Regions from separate parts of the Homo sapiens genome. Here all the other regions are linked to region 2. The links are contacts of gene promoters, found by promoter capture Hi-C in human tissues and cell types (Jung and others, 2019). All regions are on one chromosome and are shown on one strand. Each heading gives the region's core, a stretch centred on a gene start or on the middle of the fragment in contact. The rest is flanking DNA. Distances are from core to core; before and after follow the strand shown.

The links. The method cuts DNA at HindIII sites, captures the fragments that hold promoters and counts their contacts. A contact is called where the count stands out against the background at its distance.
Region 1: a contact is called between a fragment that was not itself captured here and the fragment with the promoter of CHAF1B in region 2, in 1 of the 25 tissues and cell types used here (spleen).
Region 3: a fragment that was not itself captured here is called in contact with the fragment with the promoter of CHAF1B in region 2 in 1 of the 25 tissues and cell types used here (spleen).

What each region holds. Positions count from the first base shown.
Region 1 is chr21:36,246,925-36,250,395 of GRCh38, forward strand. DOP1B (DOP1 leucine zipper like protein B) reads left to right here. Exons shown (of 37, transcript NM_001320714.2): 20 at 593-704; 21 at 1,456-1,644. Among named protein-coding and RNA genes, the nearest start is that of MORC3, 72 kb to the right of the region's middle. The HindIII fragment of the contact is 4,127 bases long and covers 1-3,471 here.
Region 2 is chr21:36,383,013-36,386,893 of GRCh38, forward strand. CHAF1B (chromatin assembly factor 1 subunit B) reads left to right here and starts at 2,380. Exons shown (of 14, transcript NM_005441.3): 1 at 2,380-2,439; 2 at 3,048-3,250. The coding sequence starts at 3,125. RefSeq lists silencers at 2,212-2,581, 2,612-2,711 and enhancers at 2,831-3,332, 3,333-3,832. The HindIII fragment of the contact is 18,705 bases long and covers 1-3,881 here.
Region 3 is chr21:36,140,653-36,144,640 of GRCh38, forward strand. All of the region lies in intron 2 of CBR3 (carbonyl reductase 3), which reads left to right. The region is part of intron 2 of CBR3-AS1 (CBR3 antisense RNA 1); the gene reads right to left. Among named protein-coding and RNA genes, the nearest start is that of CBR3, 7.6 kb to the left of the region's middle. The HindIII fragment of the contact is 4,156 bases long and covers 1-3,380 here.

The DNA of each region.
Region 1 (3,471 bases), core at 749-3,248, 140 kb before region 2:
GCTGGAGTGCAGTGGCATGACCTCAGCTCACTGCAACCTCTGCCTCCCAGGTTCAAACAATTCTCCTGTCTCAGCCTCCCGAGTAGCTGGGATTACAGGTGCCTACCGCCACATCTGGCTAATTTTTTGTATTTTAGTAGACACGGGGTTTCACCGTGTTGCCCATGCTGGTCTTGAACTCCTGAGCTCAGGCAATCCCCCTGCCTCGGCCTCCCAAAGTGCTGGGGTGCTAGAGGGAGCCACTGCGCCCAGCCCTGATCCTTTATTTCAAATCCGCACAGGTACCCAGTCTAGCTCAGTGTTGCAGGGCATGTCAGCTACTCTCTACTATTTTTGCAAAACAGAAATAAAAATGTGAATCATCTTCACAGAAATTCTAAAACATTGAAACCATTTTTCCAAAGTGACTATATGAATGTAAAATCACACAAAGGATGGTTAACATTATTATAATGATATTCTATGACGAGAGCTCCAGTTTATTTGGGATGGTGATCTCTCCCTAGTTCCTGTGTTTATATATAGGATTAGAAACCCTTATGGCCTCATTCTTTAAAAATTCTCAAACCAGTTTCTCTTTTCTTCACCACAGCACAACCTCCAAGAGGGAAAACATTTCTCCAGATTATCCACTCACCCTTCTAGAAGGTCTAACGACCATTAGTCATTTTTGTCTTTTGGAACAAGCCAACCAAAACAAAAAGGTAAATTTTTTTTTTTCCTGAGTTCAAGGCAATTTTCATGTATTGTTTTGTCTTTGGGCTATGACTGTTTCAAATAAGTAACGTATGTATGTAATGTCTGTAACTAATATGCGTATGGAGGTGATGCAAATGTGAATGCAAATATTACATAAGTCACGTACACACGTATGCAAATGCATGTGTGTTAGCAATGCAAGTGCCTACGCAAATGCATATGCAAATGCATGTATATAATTAACGCAAATGCATAAGTATGTATGTCAGCCATGCAAACATAGTTTTCTTCCTGCTGGCACTCCCTGTGCCAGCCCTTTGCCCATTGTTCCATCAGTAGCCTGTGAGATAACTTATAAAGCCACTTGTTTGATTTTAGGCTTATAGTCATCTTTTTCCATGTATTTTTTACTTGCTATCATGGTGTTCATGAAATCTGAGTAGGCAGACATTTTAGCTGTTGGTTATTCTACCCTGTAGAATACCCTGGGATTAAGTCTTAGAATACATCTAACACTTTGGTTGAATGGTTGAAAAGTTTGTAATTTAGAACATCAGACTCACAGCTGTCTCTGTGAAAGAGAACCATGGGTTGAAATGCACAGAGAAGCTTATTGCTCCCAGACCACCACATGTATGAGTTGCTTAGAAGAGAGTCCAACAGCCCAGACCTAATCCCGCTAGCACTGCTGCCCTCGTGGGAAGAAAAACCATTCCACAGACACAGCCTGCCTCATGTATTCATTTTAATTTTTAGACCATGGCTGCAGGTGATCCTGCCAACTTGAGGAATGCCAGAAATGCCATTTTGGAAGAGCTGCCTCGAACTGTTAACACCATGGCCCTTCTCTGGAATGTTCTCAGAAAGGAGGAGACTCAAAAGAGACCTGTCGATCTCCTAGGGGCCACGAAGGGATCCTCTTCCGTTTACTTTAAAACCACCAAAGTAAGAGGATGTCTCTGTAGTTCTGTCATTTACTTGGTCTTGTATTGTTCCACCCAAAATAAATGTGTATAGGAAAGTGTGCATGATAAACAGATGTGCTCAATGAAACCCAAGTCAGAGATCAGAAGTAGAAATCTCTAGTTCATTTGTTATCAGTAAGTTTCCTATACCTGAAATGGAGGAGTCTGAGTGGTTTCAGCCTGTTTTCTTCTTATTTTCCATTCACCTTATTTTGTAGTTAAAAATAAAGTCTTGGCCGGGCATGGTAGCTCACACCTGTAATCCCAGCACTTTGGGAGGCCAAGGCGGATGGATCTCCTGAGGTCAGGAGTTCAAGAACAGCCTGGCCAACATGGTGAAACCCCATCTCTACTAAAAATACAAAAATTAGCCAGGTGTGGTAGCACGTGTCTGTAATCCCAGCTACTCAGGAGGCCGAGGCAGGAAAATCGCTGGAACCTGGGAGGCGGAGGTTGCAGTGAGCCAAGATTGCACCACTGCACCCCAGCCTGGGCAACAGAGCAAAACCCCATCTCAAAAAAAAATAAAAATAATTAAAATAAATAAAGTCTCTAGAGCTAGGCGCGGTGGCTCATGCTTGTAATCCCAGCACTTTGGGAGGCCAAGATGGGGTGGATTGCTTGAGCTCAGGAGTTCAAGACCAGCCTGGCCAACATGGCGAAACCCCATCTCTACAAAAAATACAAAAATTAGCTGGGTATGGTGGCAGGCACCTGTAGTCCGAGCTACTCAGGAGGCCGAGGCAAGAGGATTGCTTGAGCCTGGGAGGTGGAGGTTGAAGTGAGCTGAGATCACGCCAGTGCACTCAAGCCTGGGTGACAGAGTGAGACCCTGTCTCAAAAACAATAGTCTCTAGTGGTTCAAAGCGGGGATACCTAGATCCTCACCTCTAAATGATCTAGAGACCCCAGCCTTGAGTCTCTAAAGCATTTCTGCGAGACAGCTCATCTCTGTTCTGCTTTTAGCGGTGCCTGTCAAACATGGCCCCATCAGAGTGGAATGTCAGGGTGCCTTTGAGTTCTTAAACCAAAAACGCACAACTGTGAATATTTATATTATAGTTTAGTCTTTGGTTTTCAGTGTCTGCCTCAGAAGGCTGTAGGCGCAGGACTCGGTCGCTCACCATCTGTGTTACTGTGTGTGGCATCTCAGAATTATCTGCCACATCTGACATCAGTTGAGAGCCCCCAGGTGCCAGATGTGGCCGCAGGGATGAGCCTTGCCATCCTGCATTTAGGTACCACGGTGCGTTGTTGGCCTCCAGACATTCTGTCGGTTCCTAGGGTGCCAAGGGAATTCTGTATTTCAAGCTCCTATAAGAACCTGCTCTTAAAAAGATTCAGAAAACCTTTTTTCTCACTCAGAAAAAAAGATTTTCTAAACCTTTTTTAGGGGAGCTTCCTGTAGCACTCAGCCTCTCTGAGCCTCCATTTCCTCGTCTGTTAAACCAGGCTGTGGCTAGCATCCTGTCCTCATGGGTTGAGGGAAAGAGTAATTACGATAAAGGCCGATGCTCATTAGGCACTTAACTCCTAGCCCTCCCTGAGGAACCCAGGGCCGGGGAGCGGGACCCCACATTAGTCCCTCTAGAGCAGAAGCCATGGTGGAAAAGAGGGGACAGCTCCATTGCTGGCTCAGTTGTATCTAATGTGAAATAAACATGGGCGGTTGTCACAGGAAGCGCTGGGTAAATCCGTCTCTTCGACAGACATTTTGTGCCTGCTGCCACGCACCAGGCTCTCTTGCTTTACCGGTGGACAAGAGAGATGAAGTCCCTGCCCCTGTGGCAGAGGCAGACATTAACTG
Region 2 (3,881 bases), core at 1,130-3,629:
AGTTTTCTTATTCTGATATTTGCTCAACATTTTTTTCCAACCCTGTACTGAATTTTGTATGTCTGTTATCAAAGCTTTTTTTTTTTTTTTTTTTGAGACAGAATCTCACTCTGCCACCCAGGCTGGAGTGCAGTGGTGCCATCTCAGCTCACTGCAACCTCCAAGTCCCGGGTTCAATGGATTCTCTTGCCTCAGCCTCCCTAGTATCCCGAGTAGCTGGGATTACAGGCACACACTACCACTCTGTATAGTTTTTGTATTTTTATAGAGAAGGGGTTTTGCCATGTTGGCCAGGCTGGTCTGGAACTCCTAGCCTCAAGCAATCTGCCTGCTTTGGCCTCCCAAAGCGTTGGGATTATAGATGTGAGCCACCATGCCCGGCTCAGATTTTGATTTTAGAATGTTCACACTTACAAATGGAAATTAAAATGCCTTGAGAAGTTTTTTTTCGAAGCTGAGTTAAGAGTTAGTCCCTTTATATCAATTTTCATTATTAAAAAGTTCTCAGGAACCAAATAACATTGGTCCCCTTAAATTGAGGCAGTTCTGCTCAAAATGGATGCTTGGGGCCCAAGCTGAACAACAGTGGTTGTTGAGGAATCTAGTTAGAATTGCGTTATAGGAATTCCCTTTTTTTTTTTTTTTTTTTTTTTTGAGACAGAGTCTCGCTCTCTCGCCCAGGCTGGAGTGCAGTGGCACGATCTCGGCTCACTGCAAGCCCCGCTTCCCGGGTTCACGCCATTGTCTTGCCTCAGCCTCCCGAGTAGCTGGGACTACAGGCGCCCGCCGCCACGCCCGACTAATTTTTTGTAATTTTTGTAGAGATGGGGTTTCACCATGTTAGCCAGGATGGCCTCGATCTCCTGACCTCATGATCCGCCCACCTCGGCCTCCTAAAGTGCTGGGATTACAGGCGTGAGCTACCGCGACCGGCAGGAATTCTTTAGTCCAACATTTGTGGTGCAAACTTTGAGGTTTTGAACAAATACTTTTTTTTTTTTTTTTGAGAAAATATTTGACAGCCCAGGGCCTCTCTCTAGAGCCGCATCCCCTGCCCGTGTTGGCTCATCAAGTTGGCACTGAAGTCGGATCTCTAAAATGTTCGCCAAGAAAGCCAACTCCTTCATGTACTTTTAATACTTAAAGCATGTGTTTTTATCTTTTAAATCCACAGTTCAGAGTCGTGACACTTCAAGAGGTGGGCAGATTATTCATTTGTGAATGAACAGCATTTATGAGAAATTTGGAGAAATTTTATGTTTGAGAGACACGAAGAATCCAGAGCTTTCCAAAACAGACTGATGATCACACCCACCGGGGAGTTTATGAAAATGCAAGCCCCTGGAGCACGGGCCTCTGCTGGATATTCGGAATCATGGGGCTGAGTAGGGCCAGGAATCTGTACTTTTAGAACAGCCATATTATCTAAAGTATATAGTCATTCCCAGTCCAAGCTCTGTAAATCCTGAAGAGAAAAATCTAAAAACTGCATATCCGGATTATGTTATTCTAGCTTCCTGTAGAAATCAGGCTTCAAGGAGCATACAGCCATTCTCATCAACATGAGACACGGATTTGTAGGCAATTTCTGTACCTTTCATAAAGCTGGCTAAAAGCATCAGCCGGTATTTATATAAGAATCCATGTCTGTTCTTTTTTTCCAAAAATCCTAGAGCAGTTGGCTCCTCAGATAACCCTGTGTGTTTCTTTTATCCAGTAAAAGCAGCGCATCCAGAGGTACTTGTTTCCTGGCCTTCTGCGAAGCCCACAGATAAATTAGGTCTCATTTGGAAACGTCCCATTTCGAAAAGCCTGAGGTATCTATCTCTGCCTACCGACTGATTTACAGCCTCACTTTAAAATGTTAGTCTGTTCTTAAAAAGGGTTTATAACTGCATCTACTATAATAATAAAATGTAAGCAACCTTGCGCTAGGTACTGAACAATTTCATAGCTTTGAACTCTCCAAAATGTTCTAGAAGCCAATACAGAAAACCCAAAAATCTCAGTTTTTGTTTGCAGAAGGGGCAAGAGAACCGGTTGTGTTAGCCCTCCAAGTGCCCAGCGCCAGCATAGGGTCTGTCTAACACACAGCCCAGGCTCTGTAAACCTTTGCTAAAAGAGCGAATCAACAAGGAATAAGTAATGGATAATAATAATAAATAATAATGAATCCATTCTTCCTTCGGTCGTGGGTCTGGCAGGCATAAATTCCGGCCGGGATTCCGACCCCAGGGCCAGAGCAGGACTCGCCTTGGCGTCTATGAGTGGGCGGGGCTTCCCTGGGGTACCGCCCACGTCGGGCGGGACCTGAGGGCCGCTGGAGGGGCGGGGCGTCTATGAGGTCCCGCCCATGCGGGGGCGGGGCCTGCGGCGCGCGGGAAGCGGCGCGCGCTGCGCGGGAGGTGACGGTGCCTCTGACTGTCCGGGTCCCTCCAGGTACGGCTTCCCTGGCCCGGGCAGCTCCGCGGCTCTTTTGGTCGCGTCGGTCCGGGCCAGAGGCCCTCGCCGAGGGCGGGCCCCTGGGCCCCGGGATAGCTCCGGAGCGGCGCGCGTTGGGGCGGCGGGGCCCCGTCCACCCCCGGCCCCGCGCGGCCTCCTCCCGGCGGCCTCAGTCCCAGCTTCCCGGGCCCAGCGCCCGGTCCCTGGGAAAGGCGGGGTTCTCCTCTCGCCCCGCCGCCCCGGTCCCCTACCCCGTTTGGCCCCCTCTTCCGGGAGGCTCCTCCCGGGGCGGGCCCCTCCCCGGGCTCTCAGGGCGCGCCCCTAGCCCCTACTAAGCGGGGACAGGCCGTGCAGACGGCCGGGGCCCCTAGGTAGCCTTTACCTGGGTGTTTCGTTTTGCTTTTCTGGATGTAGCGGCGTATCATAAACTTGTGGATGTCAGGACCCAGCGAAGCATTTTAGGTGGAGCTAGCAAGGTGTTATTGTCAGATGGCAACGTTAACATCCTTTCCCAATGCAGTGTGCATTTTAAATGGCTCCTGGCCCCTATTCAGCGCTCAATAACCCTTTGCTGCTGTTAACACTGTTGTTTAATCCATCACCAGCATTTTGCAGCTTTCTCCTGTCTTGAAGAAGTAGAACGGTGCCCGAGAAACGTTTTTCCCCTTCGAGACTCAGGAGGATGAAAGTCATCACTTGTGAAATAGCCTGGCACAACAAGGAGCCCGTGTACAGCCTGGACTTCCAGCATGGGACGGCTGGGAGGATCCACAGACTGGCGTCTGCCGGCGTGGACACCAATGTCAGGGTAAACTGGGGCAGAGATAGACATCCGGGAACACTGCTTGAAGCAATAGTTTTCATTCTTTTACTTAAAACCAGTGTCGGCTGGGCGCGGTGGCTTACGCCTGTAATCCCAGTGCTTTGGGAGGCTGAGGTGAGAGGATCGCTTGAGTCCAGGAGTTCGACACCAGCCTGGGCAACAGCCAGACATGAAAAAGTAGCGGGACGTGGCAGTGTGCAGCTGTAGGCCCAGCTACTTGGGAAGTTGAAGTGAGAGGATCGCTTGAGCCTAGGAGTTTGAAGCAAGCAACGATCACTCCACTGCACTCCAGCCTGGGTGACAGAGCCAGACCCTTCTCTTAAGTAAATGAATGAATGAATTAACGTATGTCAACAAACTAAACTACTTTGTCATCTAGCCCAGAATGCTAAATTTCCAGGGCCTGCGGTGAACAATGAAAGCAAAAGAGAGCTGCTTTCTTTTTTTTTTTTTTGAGACGGAGTCTTGCTCTGTTGCCCAGGTGGGAGTGCAGTGGTGCAATCTCGACTTACTGCAACCTCTGTCTCCCAGGTTCAAGCTATTCTCCTGCCTCAGCCTCCCAAATAACTGGGACTACAGCCGCTCATCACCACACCTGGCTAATTTTTGTATTTTT
Region 3 (3,988 bases), core at 53-2,552, 240 kb before region 2:
TAAAAAACTGAGCAAGTACAAGAGTACAAGTGCAATTCTCACCATTCACCTTTTTAGGTTAAGAAGTTTTTGTGGCCGGGCACAGTGGCTCACACCTGTAATCCTAGCACTTTGGGAGGCCAAGGCAGGCAGACCACGAGGTCAGGAGATCGAGACCATCCTGGCTAACACGGTGAAACCCCATCTCTACTAAAAATACAAAAAAATTAGCCAGGCATGGTGGTGGGCACCTGTAGTCCCAGCTAGTCGGGAGGCTGAGGCAGGAGAATGGCATGAACCCGGGAGGCGGAACTTGCAGTGAGCCCAGATCGCGCCACTGCACTCCAGCCTGGGCGACAGAGCCACACTCCATCTCAAAAAAAAAAAAAAAAAAAGAAAGAAAGAAAGAAAAGAAAATATCATAAGAATGGACTTAATCCTGAGCAACATATGGAGACCCCAGCTCTACACAAAAAATGAAAATTAAAAATTAGCTGGGCATAGTGGCATGTTCCAGCTTCTCGAGAGACTGAGGTGGGAGGATCGCTTGGGCCCAGGAGGTTGAGGCTGCAGTGAGCTATGATTGTGCCACTGTACTCTAGCCTGGGCGACAGAGCAAGTCCTTGTCTCAAAAAAAAAAAAAAATGCATTTAACGCATCTGACCTACCAAACACCATAGGTCAGCCTCGTCTAGCTTCAAGGTGCTTTGAACGCTTACATTAGCCTATAGTCTGGCAAAGTCATCTAACACAAAGCCTATTTTATCATAAAATGTTGAGTATCTTATGTAATTTATTGAATCTGTACTGAAAGTGAAATGCAGAATGGTTGTATGGGGCCTCCAAGTACAGATTCTGCAGAATGCATATCGCTTCCTCATCCATCAGTGAAGTCAGTAAGTCCTAAGTGGAACCATCAGAGGGCAGGGACCATCTATCTGTATTTGACTTGCTTATTTGTTCAAGGTTCTGAGTCAATAGGACAAGCAACTACTAAGCCACTAGAGGGCGCAACTTGCCTACTCTTTCTAGAGTAAGGCAGCAGGTGTTTCGGGACCGGTGGGGCCACCTGGACCTCAGTGGAGGGTGGTGTGGGTGCAGCCCTTCCCAGGGCTGATGACGCATCTGGCTGACGAGGCTGACTGTCAGCCTCTGGCCTCTCTCCCAGAGGTGTGCCCTCAGATCAAAGAGGACACCTCCTCCCCTTAAGAGGATTTATTTCCTCGAAGGCACAGCTTCTATGATCTGTGTTTTTCTTTCTTCCTTTCCCATTCACATTTAATTCCTTGTAGCCGCCAAGTTTCTGAGAACAAAGCTGTTTAGAAAGCAATGAAGAACACAACATCACTGATGTAGTATTCCTGGCCAAAATATTGATGTGACTCTCCTCATGAGAACAGACCAATTCACTTTGAGAGAAATACTACAAAATAATGGTCTACAGTCTTCAAAAAAGTCATTGCCAACTACCTTACATTAAAATATATGAAAGAGATGTGACAATTAAATGCAATCCATGGGCCAGGTGCGGTGACTCACGCCTGTAATCCCAGCACTTTGGGAGACCAAGGCGGGCGGATCATGAGGTCAGGAGATTGAGACTATCCTCGCTAACACGGTGAAACCCCGTCTCTACTAAAAATACAAGAAATTAGCCAGGCATGGTGGCAGGCGCCTGTAGTCCCAGCTACTTGGGAGACTGAGGCAGGAGAATGGCATGAACCCGGGAGGTGGAGCTTGCAGTGAGCCGAGATCACGCCACTGCACTCCAGCCTAGGTGACAGAGCGAGACTCCATCTCAAAAAAAAAAAAAAAAACGCAATCCATGATCCTACTTTGGACCCTGGATTAAAGCAAACAAAAACTGTAAAAGAACATTACTGGGACAATTTGGACACATTTGAATATGGGCTGTATTTTAGATAATAGTGTTGTATAATGATAAATGCCTGGCATGTGGTCATAACTGTAGTAATGTAGGGGAATGCCCTTGCTACCATATATAATACTAAAGTGTTTAAGATGAAGGTTTATGATATCAGCAACTTGGAGAGAAAAAGGGACAGAGAGGGAAAAAGCAAACACAGCAAAATGTTAACAATTAGTGAACTTAGGTGATGGGCATAGGGTATTTATCGAACTATTCTTGTAACTTCTCTGTAACAGGAAAGAAATACATACATACACTTCATCTTTGAAAGTGAGAGAGAGAAGGAAGGAAAGAAATACTGAATAGTACTAGGTACCTGGGGGGATGAGTGAGGTGCTAGTTTCCAAGGACAGAGTGAGGGTATCTCTTGTGGGATTGGGGTCCACAAGAATGTGCAGCTCCCTTGCAATGGGAACTTGTGGGGAATGCCATTCAGAAAATGAAATAAAATCTACAGATCCGGCCAGGTGCGGTGGCTCATGCGTGCAACCCCAGCACTTTGGGAGGCCGAGGAAGGCAGAGCACCTGAGGTCAGGAGTTTGAGACCAGCCTGGCCAACATGGTGAAACCCCATCTCTCCTAAAAATACAAAAATTAGCTGGGCATGGTGGCGCACACCTGTAATCCCAGCTACTTGGGAGGCTGAGGCAGGAGAATCACTTAAACCCGAGATAGAGGTTGCAGTGAGCTGAGATCGCGCCACTGCACTCCAGCCTGGACAACAGAGCAAGACTCATCTCAAAGAAAAAAAAAAAGACCCTATTGGACACAGAGAATATGCATTCAGAATAATACATAATAAAAGAACTCACTAAAATTAGTGGGGTTTGATGCTGATGAAATGTGTAAATTAACACATTTACTGGTTTTTGGATTTCCACCAGTACTTCAAATTGTAAAATTTTTGGCCTACATATTTGTTTCTATGGGCACAATTGTCTCTTTAGTAGCTGTGAATCATGATCAACATGAATATTAATTCATAATTTAATGAATATTAATATTATCAAATAGGGACTAAAAAGTAATGAAATCAGGCCGGATGCAGTGGCTCACGCCTATAATCCTAGCACTTTGGGAGGCCAAGGCAGGCAGATCTCCTGAGCTCAGGAGTTTGCGACCAGCCCGGCCAACATGGAGAAACCCCGTTTCTACGAAAAATACAAAAATTATTTGAGTGCAGTGGTGTGTGCCTGTGGGCCCAGTTATTTGTGGGGCTGAGACAGGAGGATCACTTGAGTCTGGGAAGTGGAGGCTACAGTGAGCCGAGATCATGCCACTGCACTCCAGCTTGGCTGGCAGAGTGAGATTCTGTCTCAAAAAAAAAAAAAAAAAAAAAGTGATGAGATAAAAACCAGGATGGAAAAACAGCCCATTCCACACGTGAAGTGTCCATAATGAAGGACAGACAGAGTCATCCCCAGGGATTCCTTACTGCTGGTTGTGGCACTAAGGAATTGGGGTGGCTGCCCACTGTCCTAGGACATTGGGTGTGCCTAGGAAATTGAGAGCTTTAGTCCTTAGGGTGAGAGCACTGTCCCTCAGAAAGCAGGTTTATAAGTACTTGGAGTGTGTATGCTGGGGAGGAGCAGTTTTATAAAACTGCCAGCGGGCTGGGCACACGGTGGCTCACACCTGTAATCCTAGCACTTTGGGAGGCCAAAGCGGGCGGATCTCTTGAGGTCAGGAGTTCAAGCCCAGTATGGCCAACATGGTGAAACCTCATCTCTACTAAAAAAATACAAAAATTAGCTGGGCATGGTGGCACACACCTTCATCCCAGCTACTTGGGAGGCTGAAGCAGTAGAATCACTTGATCCTGGGAGGCGGAGGTTGCAGTGAGCCGAGATTGTGCCACTGCACTGCAGCCTAGGCAACAAAACAAGACTGTCTCACAAAACAAAATAAAAAATTTTTAGGCCGGGTGTAGTGGCTCACGCCTGTAATTCCAGCACTTTGGGAGGCTGAAGCAGTAGAATCACTTGATCCTGGGAGGCGGAGGTTGCAGTGAGCCGAGATTGTGCCACTGCACTGCAGCCTAGGCAACAAAACAAGACTCTGTCTCACAAAACAAAATAA